2 separate regions of the Homo sapiens genome follow, and region 1 is linked to region 2. The links are contacts of gene promoters, found by promoter capture Hi-C in human tissues and cell types (Jung and others, 2019). All regions are on one chromosome and are shown on one strand. The core of a region is centred on a gene start or on the middle of the fragment in contact, and the rest is flanking DNA. Distances in the headings are between cores, read along the strand shown.

Region 1 (4,450 bases), core at 1,532-4,031, 1.4 Mb after region 2:
CAGTGCCCCCTTTCAGAAACGTGCTTCAGGGAATGTGCCTAAGCCATTAGTTCTTCCCACCTATAAAGGAAATAGCCACCCACTCTGTCCAATCACTGCTCTTTTTCTTTTATATTTTACATGCTTCGAGAAGCTACTTCTAGAGTAAATAATTTCAACTTATAAAACACATGAAGCAAAATATTTTCATGCAAAACACTTTTTCCCCATCAAAAAGACATATTGCACCCAGATTCTCAAGAACCAGAAGGCTCAGAAACAAAGTATGTTTTATCCTGAACGCAGGATTTGGGCCAACAAAAATTGGCTGTTGGGAGCAAAAGACAGGCTGAAGATGGGATTGTGAAAATGTAGGGAGACAAGAAAATATTTGAAAGGGAAGCCCATCTTTTATGATTACTTTTTAAAAATACTTCGAAATCTCTGAGTACAATTTATAATGTTGAGTTCCTATCTTTCTATCTAGCATTTATTTCTACAAAATATTTTCTTAACTGTTTACATAGGAAGAATAATATAAAACTCTCTTCCATATCAAGATTATAATTAATTTCTGTATGCTGAGACTAAAATATACAATATGACTAGGATATAAAAGAGATGGGAAACATTTATGCCTACTGCATCACAACCATTTTGACAAGAGATGGAGAAACGATTCAGTGTGTCTTATTGTCTACTTCTCCTCTGGGGGACTTTTGACCTAGAGGTTAGAATATTTATTCCTGTCTCCCTTCCTATGCCTTAAAAGACTACAAGTGAAACAAATACTGCTGTGGCATCCATTTTCTCTGTAGAGATTATAGAACCGGTGATCAGTCTTTTGCATTCTCAAAAGCTACAGATTGAGAGGGCTATTAATAAATCCTTTTTTTTAAGCTAGAAGAAAGTTGGAGCCTAGTGATCCAACCACAGACAACTTAAGATCCAGAAAGGATTTGTAATAACAACAGAAATACAAATTTGATACTTTGAATTTGCAATTTTTTGCTACAGTTATTCTAAATGCATATTACCAAATGAATTGATATTAGGTACAAACTATGACCTATTTAGAAAGTGGCTTTCTAGCTATAAAAGTGTATTTCAGAAACAAACTTGGCATGTATTTAAAACTCTTAAAATTTCTAGATGCAAAGCAGGATTGTTTTTCTTGGGTGACAAAATGATTCTAATGTCTTCAAAAATTCTAGAGAATGCCTTTCCGTAGTAAAGACTATGGGATGGAAAGAATGAATAACAGAAACATATATGTTGAAACTGGAAGACAACGTACAGGTGGCATAATACTTCAGAGAAGTTATGGCAGGGTTTATGCATTGCATTAGCTGAAAAGGTTAACAGAAATGAAAGTGCCTGGAGAATCGGGGAAAAGATATTATCATACCAAAAGTGTCTGATATTACAAAAAACAGAGGTTTGCCCTAAATCAGCAGACAACGAAGTACGTTCTCTTCTGCACTGACCTTCCTCCCAACCCCACCTAAGCCCCAACATACATTTGGTGTGTTTTGTCTTTAAAAGGGGAATCACTGCAATTATCCTGTGTTTCCAATGACCCATGGGCTCTTAAGCAACTAGTTCTGTGCACCACAAACTATATTGCTTCACATTTAAAGATTAGCAACCATAGCAAGTTATTATATGGCCTGGAAAGGAAAACAGTTTACTTTATTAACAATAAGCCCATGAAAAGTGATTTCTCTAGGCTTTGCTAACACTTTACCTCGTATTTCACCTGGGCATGAATTTACCTAGCACATAGTGATGATGATCTCTGGAAGGAGTTTCCAGATTTCTTTAATGGAGGTCTAACAACAAATTATTGAATGCTAGGAAATAAACCCTTACCTACTATCCACCTTCAAATTTTACTGAAAAAACATTGGCAATTCTACTGAAATTACTTTCTCAACAAAATTCCATTATAGTTTGAAAATACAATTTTGTAAATTAGAGTTTCAAATATTCTTTTAGATGATCCTTGATCAGTTTATTAGTTTAAAAAATTACTTAATGGATTCAGTAAAATTACTGCTATAGTGTTTCACCTACAGACATCATAAGCTTCTTTATACAAGATGTCAACATAGAAGAAACACACAATGTTTTTCACTCCCTACTAACAAACATAAACTTAATACTTTGCTCATTTTCTAAATCACTCCTCTGGTATCAAGAATTGCCTATACTTACCATATTTTGACATTGTTGTTGTTATAGTCATGCGTGGAATTTTAAAACAAATGATTTCCTCATTTTGTTTACGGCCTAAGTGCTCCAGATAGCTACCATTTGGCAAAAATGAGGTTTATAGTTTTCAAAGAGCAGGGTGGTGATTTACTTTACAGTATGCATAAATGACAATTTAAAGCCCACTTACCTCTATTGCATTTGAACTTTTTAATCATAAGAAAGTGGGAACAACAATAATTAAAAGCCAGGGTCCTAGAGCTTTGGCATTAACTCTGTGTTAACACTAAAAATCTATTAAATATTTTATATATACAAAAATGTAGTACTTTCTCATTCTCGTTTCTCCCCTCCAGAAAATCTCATTTAATATAGACATATGCACATTTAATTTATTGACAATTTAACCCACTTTTATGAAAAGTATTGATGAGCAAAAGGTGGTAAGATGATTTTCTAAAAATCATTAAGTTTTTTATTAATTTCAAAATTATATAAACTTACAATTTTAGCTTCTTAAAGAAATGCAGAGTATTTTAAAACTAATCTTTATAAGCATTACCCACCCTCAAACCTCTTTCCTGTTTTTCCTTAAAAGCCTAACGAGGAAAATTGATTTTTAAGTGTTGTCATCTCCGTCTAGGTACTAAAGACAGCCAACATTACTATTGTTGTATATCTGTCTTACTCTTGATGATACAAGTATATTGATGATGTAATTGCAGAAGTTAGGGTTTACTCATGCTGTTGGACCAAAGGGATTTTTTTAGACTGCCTCCTTGAGCACCACAGAACAGTTGTAAAACAGAACCAAGCACACAATTTAAGCAATTCATCTCTTGAAAGTAAATCTGCAGGATCTTCTTCTTGAAGAACTGATGAAGAGCTAGAAATAAAAAAATCATTGGTAAAGCTTCTTTTGCTTCAGACTGGATGCTGAGCTGGAAAAACACTTGGGTGACACACTAGTGTATGACATCTTGGCTTTTAACCCTTTCCTAGAAGCCCTCAACTTTTGTTCTCTGTTGAGCTCTATTTTTTTCTTCCAAAATTCCGAGGGGTTATGGAATATCCCAGCCTTTCATCTCAACCCTATTTGTCCCTATGTAGATATTCTCCTGAAAGTTGACTGGAAACTAAGCAGTCATTTATCATTCTGAATTCTTTTTTTAAAAGCAATGACTGAGAAGTCATGATGCTCCATAGAATCATGTACATTATAAAAACAGGAGAGCCGAGATTTTACAAATATATCTGCTACGCTAAGAGAACCCCATGGTTGTGATTTCCAAGTGCAAACAAAAAGAAGGGACAGGAAAATACAGACAGAAAATCGCATGCAGATGAAGCAGTGCGTGCAACGGAGGAAAGAACATACCTGAGGAATTCTCCTTTAAAAAAAAATGTGCACGCCAACTGGGTTGTTCTTCCCCTCCTTTTGGAGTGTATGTGTTTTCCTTTTAGGAACACCACTTGCAATTGTGTTTCTAGTCTCGTTTCCTTTTTTCAATCACAAATAGTTAGAACAGGAGTGGAAGCTGCGTCCCAGGGATCCGACTCGTGCAATCAGGCATGCCTTGGTCTGCAACGGTGTCTGTTCTTTTCTTGTCAATTCTATCGCACTCCCGGGTAGCCTCCGAAGCAATTCTACAACTTAGCTGCTGGCAAGAAACTGCCTTTCACTCTTCTCATTGCCAAATACCTTCCGCGGCTCATTTCTCATCTCTTTCTCCCAGAAAGCAAAATGGGATCTCTCCCGTGTGTTGAGGAGCGCCCAGGCTCATCAACATTTGAGGGTGAGGAGCAGCCGGGCTGAGTGCGTGCTGGGAACTTCACACATCGCCGGCTGCGGCTGAGTCTTTTCTGAATGCAGCACCGGCACTGCGATCCCCAGCCTCCTCCACCGAGAGCGCCCGGGCTCCCTCTCCTGCCGCCGTAGCACGGCGTAGCTCCGAGAGGGTGAGCTACAGCCCCTGCTCACAGGAGACGCACTGTAGCCACTGCCAGGTGTGGCCTTCACCACCGCACTGACAACTAACTGTGTGGGACACAGCTTCATCGCTGGGAGACGCCTGAATGCCAGAGCTTCCTCAGCCTATCTTCCCTTTATCGCTGGATGATGACCTAGGAGACAGTCATGGCCAATTCTGCCAGTGGAATAGCGTGGATAATACTAAATTACCCATGTTATTCAACAATGACTGTTTTAGATGTACTTGACTGTACTTGGAATTATGAAAGTATACCGCACACAGTA
Region 2 (4,890 bases), core at 2,391-4,890:
CTGCCTTAGCCTCCCAAATCGCTGGGCTTAAAGGCGTGCGCCACCACGCTCAGCTAAATTTATTTATTTTTTTTTGTGAGAAGGAGTTTTGCTCTTGTTGCCCAGGCTGGAGGGCAATGGTGCAATCTCAGCTCACCGCAACCTCCGCCTTCTGGGTTCAAGCCATTCTCCTGCCTCAGACTCCCGAGTAGCTGTGATTACAGGCATGCACCACCATGCCTGGCTAATTGTGTATTTTTAGTAGAGATGGGGTTTCTCCATGTTAGTCAGGTTGGTCTCGAACTCCCAACCTCAGGTGATCCGCCCGCCTCGGCCTCCCAAAGTGCTGGAATTACAAGCGTGAGCCACCGTGCCTAGCCTAATTTTTGTATTTTTAGTAGAGATGGGGTTTCACCATGATGGCCAGGCTGGTTTTGGACTCCTGACCTCAAGTGATCCACCTGCCTCGGCTTCCCAAAGTGTTGGGATTACAGGTGTGAGCCACTGCGCCTGGCCAAATGGAATCAATTTTTATCACTATTTTATTTTATTTTTTGAGATGGAGTTTTGCTCTGTCACCTAAGCTGGAGTGCAGTGGCGCAGTCGCAGCTCATTGTAACCTCTGCGTCCCAGGTTCAAGTGATTCCCCTGCCTCAGCTTCCAGAGTAGCTGGGACTACAGGTGCCTGCCAACACACCTGGCTAATTTTTGTGTTTTTAGTAGAAATGGGGTTTCACCATGTTGGCCAGGCTGTTCCCAAACTCCTGACCTCTGATGATCCGCCTACCTCAGCTTTCCAAAGTGCTGGGACTACAGTCGTGAGCCACCATGCCTCACCAAATTTTATTATTTTCTTTTTTGCAGGTTTACCTCAATGTATGATCTTCCAGAAACAGTTCTGAAACCTACAGGTTAATGACCTTGTATTAGCATAATATGGTTTGCTAATATTCACTTAATACTCATAAGTTTGTAGTTGGCAAAGCTGGAAATAGAACTCAGGTTCACTGAGTGTCATCAATGTTATTCTCATCAGATCTTGCTGTTTATTCTTTTTGAAACTGCTTATTAATTTGCTTTAAATATTAACAACACAGATACTGGATAATAGTAAATCATAAGAATTTTAAAATTTTGATGGTATCTCAACTGATCAGCTTTTCTTAAATTTTCTAGGTTTCCTCAGCACAGGGGAAAGCTTTATAGGTGGAAGGTGGAGGCCCTGTGACTTGCGCAGAAAAGTACCACTGTAATTTACTTTTATGGGCACCTAAGCAGGTTGCCCAGGGCAACTTGTAGATTTTGTTGTTGTTGTTGTTAATACTATCTCCTTCAGTCACTGAGAACTCTTTTTTATTTTTTTATTTTTTGAGATGGAGTTTTGCTCTTGTTGCCTAGGCTGGAGTGCAGTGGCGTGATCTTGGCTCACTGCAACCTCCGCCTCCCGGATTCAAGCGATTCTCTTGCCTCAGCCACCCGAGTAGCTGGGATTATAGGCATGCGTCACCACGCCCGGCTAATTTTGTGTTTTTAGTAGAGATAGTGTTTCTCCATGTTGGTCAGGCTGGTCTCGAACTCTTGAACTCAGGCGATTCGCCTGCCTCGGCCTCCCAGAGTACTGGGCCTTAAATGCTGGAATTATAGGCATGAGCCACCGCGCCCAGCTGAGAACTCTTCTTGTTATCAAATGACCCTCTTTACTACTGGTTCTAGAATTTCGTTCAGCTTTGGCTCAAAACATAATGCAGAAAACGAAATCTAGTAAAAACAGAAGACAAATTAGCTGATAAACTTTGTTGGCATAATTAGTACCATAAAATCTGGAAAAGCTAAATCTTAAATTAAAAATTTTTTAGATTTCCAGGATAATTCACAAATGTTTATAGATTCAGAAACAAAAGGTCCATTGCTTTATACTTTACATCATAGACAACCACTGCAGTTTTCTAATATGGGTTTCACCTTCTTCAAACCTGATATTCTTAAAATGTGGAGTTCAAACTGACTATAGTTAAGAACGAAACAAATAGCCAATACAAAGAATAATAAAAGGATGAGTTCAAATTATCTGCCACATGTCATCAACTTTTATTAAATGATAAAAAGGTTAATTAAAATTGTAAATGATTTTTCAGAAGAAATTACATCTTAAAATTGGCCTGTGAAAGTGGCTTGAAAGGTATAAAAATCTACCAGTAGCTGGTATTAGCTTTCTTAGTAATTTAATTTTCAGTTAGAGAAAGCCAGACCACTTTGACCTTTCGAAGTCCTTTGGTATAGATACATATACATTTAAAAAGATAAATGAAAACAAGCCATTGATTAATAATGCCCATCGCAGAAGCTGTAATTATAAAATTAAGATTTTTTGATGTCACTGTTGATGTTGAATATAGTTAATAGAAAAGCAAAAATAAAAAATAAAAAAGGTCTAATTTTGAGGCACTCTTTTGTCTCTGCTCAGGTCCACCGTCTTCCTTGCTAATGTTTACGTTTATTATTAATTTTTCCATTTATTTATTTACTTTTACCACAATTAGGGGACAGAGAATGAAACCTAAACTTTTTATTGCTTCTGTAAAGAGTGAATATAAATGTAAGATTTTTTTTTTTTGAGACGGAGTTTTGCTCTTGTTGCCCAGGCTGCAGTTCAGTGGCGCAATCTCGGCTCACTGCAACCTCTGCCTCCCAGGTTCAAGCAATTCTGCTGTCTCAGCCTCCCAAGTAGCTGGGATTACAGGCCCGCGCCACCTCTCCTGGCTAATTTTTTGTATTTAGTAGAGACGGAGTTTCACCATGTAGGTCAGGCTGGTCTCGAACTCCTGACCTCAGGTGATCCACCCGCTTCGGCCTCCCAAATTGCTGGGATTACAGGCGTTGAGCCCCGGCGCCCGGCCACCAAATCCTTTTTCAAAACAACTCCCTTCTTTGACACAGTGCAATTTAAATAAGTATACAATTAACAAAGTACGTTTTTCTTGTTCAAAACCATCACTGAACAGTTTGCAACAGTAGGGTATGAATGCATACAATCTCGATGGTCTTTACACCTTCAGAGGCTATTCGGACTTAAGGAAACGTGCATTTACAAGTGTAAATGTAAAAGCTCAGTAGTTGCCTTGTAAAGTGCTTTTCGGGGTTGTGGGGTTGGGGGTGGTAGGAGTAGGTGGTGCCTCAAATTATACTAGCGAATACCAACATTCCCAAACATCTAGCCCTCTGCCTAAACTCACCCGGTTGCGGTCTGTCATTTTCGCTCTTCTTTGTTAATTTTTTCGGCAAAGTCAGTTTTCATGCAGCAGATGGCAAGAAAGCCGGTGAACGCCTAGGGACGTGGCCTTTTAACCGCACCCAATTAAAGCAGCAAACAGAAGATGAATAGCTGGGTGGATCAGTATGTGTAAACCTATCCGTTTAATCCGGGGAGCTGTTTTCCCGGGTGAAACCACGAATTCTTTCTGGAGGTTGCAACTCGTAACCATAGCAACTGGAAGTGGTCGCCGGCTCCCGGATGTTGTGGGGATCTGCGGCCGCCTGGCCCAGCTTCCCGCAGCCGCCCGGCGGCGGCCTGCGCTCCACTTCGGGAGTGGTAGTTCTTCTCTTCACCGCTGCCGGGCAGGAGGCGCAGGCGGGACTACGCGTCACGGCATGCACTGCGGCGCCCAGCCGGTCACCGCCTGCCGGCTGCAGACGCCTGCGAGCAGGTTGTTTTTATAAGAGGCGTCATTGGCGCCCGAGCTGTGACCGCCGCCACTGGGGCAGCCAGCACAATCGGGCGGAGGTGGCGCTGCCCCTTCAGGTACTGTACTAGGCGGGCTTAGACCCCGGGAGGGGGTTTGTGCCGACTGTCTGAGTCCCTGGCCGACACGCTCGGCTCAGTAGAGGAGCAGTGGCGGGGTCCGCCTCCTAGGCTGGGGCTGCTCGGGCGGGGACTTGACGCCTGGTGTCAGCGGCCGCACGGGCGACCTCCTCGGGCCGTGCGCGAGTGCACAGCTCCGGAGGCCCGAGCCGACCCTGGGGCGTCCGGTCCGGTGGTCTTGCAGCCTCCAAACCCCGAGTGCTATACCGAACTGCGCGCCAAGGGTGGGAGAGCTGACGGCCTGGGCCACCCTTCTTCCTTCACTGGGCAGGCTTTGAGGTGCTTGTCGGTCTGGACTGATGAAAATCCATATGGTAAGATGTTATGTGCGTCACCCTGCCGGGTTTAATGCCAGCCTGTCTTTTGATGACATTTGAGCCCCCGTGATGTCAGGAATAGAAAGATTAAATATTAAATAATGCCCGGAGACTTCCGCTAGCACGCCAGCCTGATGATGATCAAATACCTCTCCATATCCTTCTCCAGTTCCAGTGGCCTCCTTTAGCTTTGGTCTCCCTAATCGATTTGTCCTCATTAGCAGCTGTCCCATGCAGTGCCTTGTACGCGTTGTTTATGTTTAGCACTATTGGGAGCGCCAAGTAAGGTATTTTATTGAGTGGTGAAGTTTGCACTGTTCTGCTCTACTTTTATTGAAAAACACAGTTGGGCATTCTTGTAGTTAGAATAGCTAACTATATAGTACTATGAATTTTAGATTTGTCTCCTCCAATCTACAGGATAGTGCTTGAAATATCGCTATTACTGCATCGTATCTTTTAAGATTAGAATCATATTGGGTCCCACACGTCTCAGGGGATATTTATCACACACATCCAGTGTGAATGGTTTACTTTTATTTTCTGAGTTCAGGTCATATAGCAGAAGATGGAGATGGTGAGGGTATTATTTTAATTCATATTTTTTTTTTTTTTGAGAGAGGGTTTCGCTCTTGTTGCCCAGGCTGGAGTGCAGTGGCGCGATCTCGGCTCACTGCAACCTCTGCCTTCCAGTTTCAAACGATTCTCCTGCCTCAGCCTCCCGAGTATCTGGGA

Evidence for each region. The method cuts DNA at HindIII sites, captures the fragments that hold promoters and counts their contacts. A contact is called where the count stands out against the background at its distance.
Region 1: a fragment that was not itself captured here is called in contact with the fragment with the promoter of CCPG1 in region 2 in 1 of the 25 tissues and cell types used here (dorsolateral prefrontal cortex).

What each region holds. Positions count from the first base shown.
Region 1 is chr15:53,978,049-53,982,498 of GRCh38, reverse strand. UNC13C (unc-13 homolog C) reads right to left here and starts at 4,058. Exons shown (of 33, transcript NM_001080534.3): 1 at 3,572-4,058. All of the region lies in intron 1 of LOC124903495 (a long non-coding RNA gene), which reads left to right. The HindIII fragment of the contact is 4,386 bases long and covers 589-4,450 here.
Region 2 is chr15:55,407,109-55,411,998 of GRCh38, reverse strand. CCPG1 (cell cycle progression 1) reads left to right here and starts at 3,640. Exons shown (of 9, transcript NM_001204450.2): 1 at 3,640-3,778. It overlaps PIERCE2 (piercer of microtubule wall 2), which reads right to left and starts at 3,504. Exons shown (of 2, transcript NM_001198784.2): 1 at 3,213-3,504. The coding sequence starts at 3,230. The region is part of intron 8 of DNAAF4-CCPG1 (DNAAF4-CCPG1 readthrough (NMD candidate)); the gene reads left to right. RefSeq lists enhancers at 3,261-3,460, 3,511-3,780, 4,141-4,420. The HindIII fragment of the contact is 18,708 bases long and covers 1-4,890 here.